Regions from separate parts of the Homo sapiens genome. Here region 2 is linked to region 1. The links are contacts of gene promoters, found by promoter capture Hi-C in blood cells and fetal thymus (Javierre and others, 2016). All regions are on one chromosome and are shown on one strand. The core of a region is centred on a gene start or on the middle of the fragment in contact, and the rest is flanking DNA. Distances in the headings are between cores, read along the strand shown.

Evidence for each region. The method cuts DNA at HindIII sites, captures the fragments that hold promoters and counts their contacts. A CHiCAGO score of 5 or more calls a contact.
Region 2: a contact is called between a fragment that was not itself captured here and the fragment with the promoter of DPYSL5 in region 1, in 1 of 17 cell types (megakaryocytes). The highest score is 6.6, in megakaryocytes.

What each region holds. Positions count from the first base shown.
Region 1 is chr2:26,846,694-26,849,393 of GRCh38, forward strand. It overlaps DPYSL5 (dihydropyrimidinase like 5), which reads left to right and starts at 1,439. Exons shown (of 13, transcript NM_020134.4): 1 at 1,439-1,561. The HindIII fragment of the contact is 4,603 bases long and covers 1-2,700 here.
Region 2 is chr2:26,977,209-26,979,982 of GRCh38, forward strand. All of the region lies in intron 1 of MAPRE3 (microtubule associated protein RP/EB family member 3), which reads left to right. Among named protein-coding and RNA genes, the nearest start is that of MAPRE3, 8.0 kb to the left of the region's middle. The HindIII fragment of the contact is 2,833 bases long and covers 25-2,774 here.

The DNA.
Region 1 (2,700 bases), core at 189-2,688:
CTTTGAGGTTCCTCTGGGGGCTCCCTGCTCTCTGCTTACCAAGCAGGCGGGAGTTGGGAAGGGGAGAAGGAGTGCAGACTCAGGGGTGGGGTAATCCAGAAATGCATCCCTCAAAGGCCAGCCTGGCCTGGTCCAGGCCCTAAGCTCTCTGGGGAAGGACGGCAGGGAACCCCGCCTTGGCGGGCTCTGCGGGTCCTGCGCCCGGGTAGATTTTGCTGAGATGGGGAGAGGGGACCCCCTCCACGCCCCCGGAGTAGTGAACACCATTTTGTTTGAAAGTATCCTGCAAAGAGAACCACCTCACGAGGCCATGGCTGCCAGGGGACTCCTCTCCCCACCGGATCGCCGGGGAGCCCGGGGAGGGAGGGATTCTGCAGCTGCAGCTTGGAGGTCCTTGATGCTGCATTTTAACGCGCATCGCAACGCCTTTGGAGTGACATTAAGTGCAAAGAGGCAAATGACTAATCCAAACTATTATTACAACTGCAGAAAATAACACAGATCAATGGCAAAGGCTTGAACCGGGATTAGCTAGGGAGGTGGGACAAACCGGGGATGATCCTTCCTCTCCTTTTTTAGATTTGTTTATTTTGGTAAATTATGTATGTATTTAAACATGAAGAAACAGGTGAAGCGAATGTAAATTGGGTTATAAATAATTTCCAAAGGCTTCGCTGTCCCTTGACAGAAGCCAGAAATAAGACAGGCACTGGGCCTGAGCGCTCTGGACAGGGAAGCACCCGCGTGGCGCTGGGCAAAATCTTCTCAGTGGAGAGAACGCACTCCGGGTTCGAGACCTCCCCGGGTGCAGATGCGAACTGCGGTGGCCCCAAGTGGCCGTCCACTTTGTTCATGAGAACAGTTTTCCTATAACGCCCACCCGGCCCTTTGCATCCCGCAATCCCGCGGGCGTCGGAGCGGGTCTTGGCGCGAACCAGGCGGCCTCGGCGGGGTCCTGCGGCGGAGGGCAGCGCGGCCGCAGCCCGGGAGAGGCGGCCGCGGCATTGTTTCAGCCCCTGGGGTGGGATCCAGCTGGGGGAGGGGAGGCGGGGTGTCCTCCGGAACCGCCCCCGGCCCTCCCTGGGGACCCGTGCCTCAGCGCGTCCAGGCTTTGTGGTGTCCTGAGTCGCCATGGAAACCCGAGGGAACGCGGAGCCGGGTGCTAGGGGGGTCGGTGAGTTCTCCGGCCGCGCCCTCCGTCCGCTCTCGGACCCCGGCCCTGCAGCAGGGCCTGCCGGGAGTTGTAGTCCCCAGGCGGCGGCGGCGCGCGGCGCCAAGGATGCGGGACGCCGCCTGTCCCCGCCTCCCCTTAACCTGCTAGCTGAGGTGGGGAGCGGCGGGAGGAGCCGGCCGCGCGGTGATTGGCGGAGGCCGCTCCCAGCCCCCGACACGCGCCCCTCCCCCGCTCCCCACTCTGGACTCCCGCGCTGGGCGCGCTGAGGCGGCCCCCGAGCGAGCGCGCGTGCAGCCGCCGCCGCCCCGAGCACCCGCAGCTCCGGCGCCGCGGCGAGACGGAGACGGACCGAGCCACGGGCCCCCGCGGCCGCAGCATCTCGGAGGAGTGGGTGATGGCAGGGGGGTCGGTGGGCTTACCCCTCCCGGGCTAGGACATCCTCCTCTCCCCCTTCTGTTTCTGCGTGAGGCGCACAAAAGGGCGGGGAGCCGGGTGAGCCTGGGGCCCGGCCGCAGGGGACGCGGCGGGAGGTGTGGTTTGGGGTTGGGAGGTGGCCATCGGGGCTAAGCCGGGGCGCTCTTGGGGTCCTCTTTGTACGCCCGCGAAGCGCCGTGCCGGGCCTTGCTCATAGTAAGCGTTTAATGCGTGCTCGCGGGGTTGCAAAGCCCTGGGGTGAGGAGGCGGCTCGGCCGAGGGGTTTCGCGCCTAGCACGCAGTGGGCCGCTTTCCTAGCCGGGCGCGGTGCAGTGGACCGCTGGAGGGCTGGGCGGGGGCGCCTCTGGCCGGGGGCCAGTCCTGCCGGTCCCAGGATCTGCGCTGTCCCCGGTCCCACACACCACCCAGATACACACCCTCCGTCCTTCTCGCCTCCGAGCTGGGATCTGCCCAGCCTGGACCCGACCCGGCGGTCTGTTCCACCGCCCGGCTAACGGAGCGGACGCCTGCAGAGGACTCGCCCGCCGCCTCCGAGCCTCCCGCCTGAGCCACAAAGGCCTCCTGCGGCTGCCCAGCCCGGAGCGGGCGCCGAGCCGGGTCCCTCGGCTGGAGCCCAGCGCGGGAGCCCGCCTTGCAGCATCGATCTCAGCGGGCACCGACGTCGACGCCCCGGGCCTGGGGACGGGGCTGTAGTCTGAGCTGGAGAGAAGCCGGGAGAGGGCGAGGGGAGGCCTCGGTTGAGAAAAGATGGGGATGGGGAAGGCTGGGGAGCTGGGTTAGGACAGGTAGTGGGTCTCGGGGAGCAGGGAGTGGGAACTAGGGTTTGAGGAGGAAAGAGAAGGGGCGGGGGCGGGTCCGAAGAACGAGGGAAGGAGCTCGGTGCAGGTGGCGCCCGGCGAGGCTGGTTCTGCTGAAGAATGGGGAGGGGAGGAGGGATGCAGGCGGGTGGAGGCCGCCTGGGTTTGAGGAGGGAGGACGGGAGCGAGGAGAAGACCCGCGCTGTGCGGGGGAGGGGGGCCTCCTGGGAAGGGGAGCCTCCCGAGGAGGGAGGGGCAAGCAGCTGAGAGGCGGTCTCGGGCCCGAGGATCCTC
Region 2 (2,774 bases), core at 191-2,690, 130 kb after region 1:
CTTAGTGCTTGTTGGTGTTTTCTAAGCTTTTCTGCATTAAGCAACTATAACTTAATTATGACATTTTAAAACCAGTGACTTCTAGATTCCATGTAGTAGAGCAATCTTTAGAGTCTTCTTTGCCTCTTCCTTTTACTGTTTACATGTATCGGAAGGTTTTAGTAAAACCTTGTATACCACAGGGCTCTGTTTTGGGTGGCCTTCTTTTCCCAGGTGTCTTTTCAGATTCTCTGTATTCCCAGTTCTCCAGTGTTCCAGGGGCCTTTTTTGAGGGTTTTGCTCATTTTTTGGTGTGGATGTGCACCTGTCTGAATTGTCTGTTTCAAAAGACTCTGCCCAGGCCCACTACAGTTGCCTTCCTCCCTTTGCCCTTTGTCACCTTCCGTTCAGCCATGAGCTCAGAGGCCCTTTTTCCTTCCAGGGATAGAGAGGGTTGGGTGCCCACCTGTGGCCACCCGATGGGCAGAGCCCTATGTAGACATAGGCTAGGCCACTCCCCCTGTGCCACACCAGGTCCATGGAGCTGCTGACTGTGTTGGTAGGGCCTGGCCGGGCAGCTGTCCTCTGGCCTCATCTTTCCCATCCACACACACACACTGTACATTGCCTAGATGGCCCAGTCCAGTGGACTGATACCTGCCTTCAACCAGTGGTGGAGTCTGCCCAGCTCTGAGCACTGAGAAAGGGGCACTTTGGCCTCCTCCTGAGGATCCGGGACTTCGAGTTGAAGAACATATGGCCTGTCACATAGCTCGAACTGTGCTGTGATAAATGTTTGCTAAGCAGGATCTGCCTCTTCCTCCAAATGGTCTGGCTACCCAAATACTTGTCCTAGATGGGGTGGAGGCCTTCCCTGCTGCTGGAATTATTAGTGAGCAAGTCTTTGGGTATGGCTGGCTGGAGAGACTCCACCACTCGGAGAGAGTGATTGTGGGAGAAACAGTCATCTTATCTTGAGGGCATTGTGGTCCTGGTCACCTTGTAATTTATATGGTGTTCTCTGACTGGTAAGAAATGAAATCTTAACTGCTTCTGAGTCAGCAAGATCATAGTTGGGTCTAAGGTGTGTGTTGCCATGTGAAAGGGGCAGGTCTTAGACCACTAGATGAAATTAGATACCTTTCCCATGTGAGGAGTGTTTCACGCAGGCTTATCTCCAGTGGCATAATGTGTGCTGTGTAGCCAGGCCTTTCCGCAGCACCAGACTCTTGGCAGCCAGCCACCCTCCACCCCCACCCGCTTCCCTGAAGGTTATTGACACTTACCTGGGACTCTGATTTGGTCCTTGATTTGTTCTGATTTTAGATGCTTAGAGCTCATAGCTGAAAGCTCTCAGTTTAGGCATCCTATTAACACTCTTAAGTGACAGGATCACTGCTAAGTACAGAGATGTGTTATGCTGGCCCCAAAATAGCAAGGTACAGTGTCTTGAGACAACTTGATAAGACTTCTATTACCCCAAAAGTATAGTTCCCAGGTTTACAGATTATTCATATAAATTTGCATATCATCTTCACAAGACATGTAAGCATGCTCTCAGCACGTATTCTTCATCAAGCCCTTTCTCTGTTTTGTATTGTTAGTCACTATGGGATATAAAGGAAATGAGACTCAACCCTTGTCCATGAGGAGGCTGTAATGTGTGTGGAAGACAAGATGGATATATGGAATGATTAGTGCATATGACAATATTGCATGTCAGAAACACATCTTTGGTGCCTTATTCTATAAGACACAGTGTCAGCCCTTAAGGAATTCAGCTAATATTCTGGCAAAAGAGTTGGACACAAAACTGTATGTCACTGTAACATGAGGGGATGGAACCTTATCAGCTATGGGAAAGGGTGCTTTGGTAAGCCAGAAGGAAGAGTCACCCTGAGCCTGTGAGAACCAGAAAGACTTCAGAGATGAAGACACACTGGAGCTGGGTGTGCAGGTTGATGTGGAGACTCATCAGAGGACAGCTGAGGAAGAGAGGCAAAAGAAATGAAAAGAACAGTGCATTGGGTGTCACTGGTACTACAGAGTCTAAATTCCAAAAGGATGCTGAGAGGAAAATAATCATTGTGAACTGGAGTAATCAGAAAAGACTTCAGTCTAGGTGCAATGGCTCACGCCTGTCATACCAACACTTTGGGAGGCCAAGGGGGGAGGATCACTTGAGGCCAGGAGTTCAAGACCAGCCTCAGCAACATAGCGAGACCCCATCTACAAAAATTGTTTTTAAATTAGCCGGGCATGGTGGCATATACCTATAGTCCCAGCTACTAGGGAAGCCAAGGCAGGAGGATGGCTTGAGCCCAGGAGTTTGAGGCTGCAGTGAACTATGATCATGCCATTGCACTCCAGCCTGGGTGGCAGAGTAAGGGCCAATCTCTATTAAAAAAAGACAAGACTTCACAAAGGAAGCAGAACCTGACCTTGTCTCAAGGATGAGCAGGCTGTGAGTTGACAGAACACCAGAGAGGGCTTTTCAGGAGGCAAGGTACAGCATCAGCAAAGGAATGGCCGTGGGAAGGGGTGTGGTGGGGTTTGTAGGCAGGGCAGCCTTACCAGACTGAGGATGTGTGCTGGTTTTGAGTTTGGAGAATATTGGTGACATTAACCAGAAATTAGGAAGTTTGAAGAGACAGTTTGGAAAGGAGTTGCTTTTTAGACACAGAGAGCTAAAAACAACGTGACTGTGGGTTGCAGGACATCCAAGTTGAGTGATCTCATAGAACCGGAAGCTGAGGGTCAGGTTGTGGATGGAGCTGTAGAGTGGGAGTCAGCAG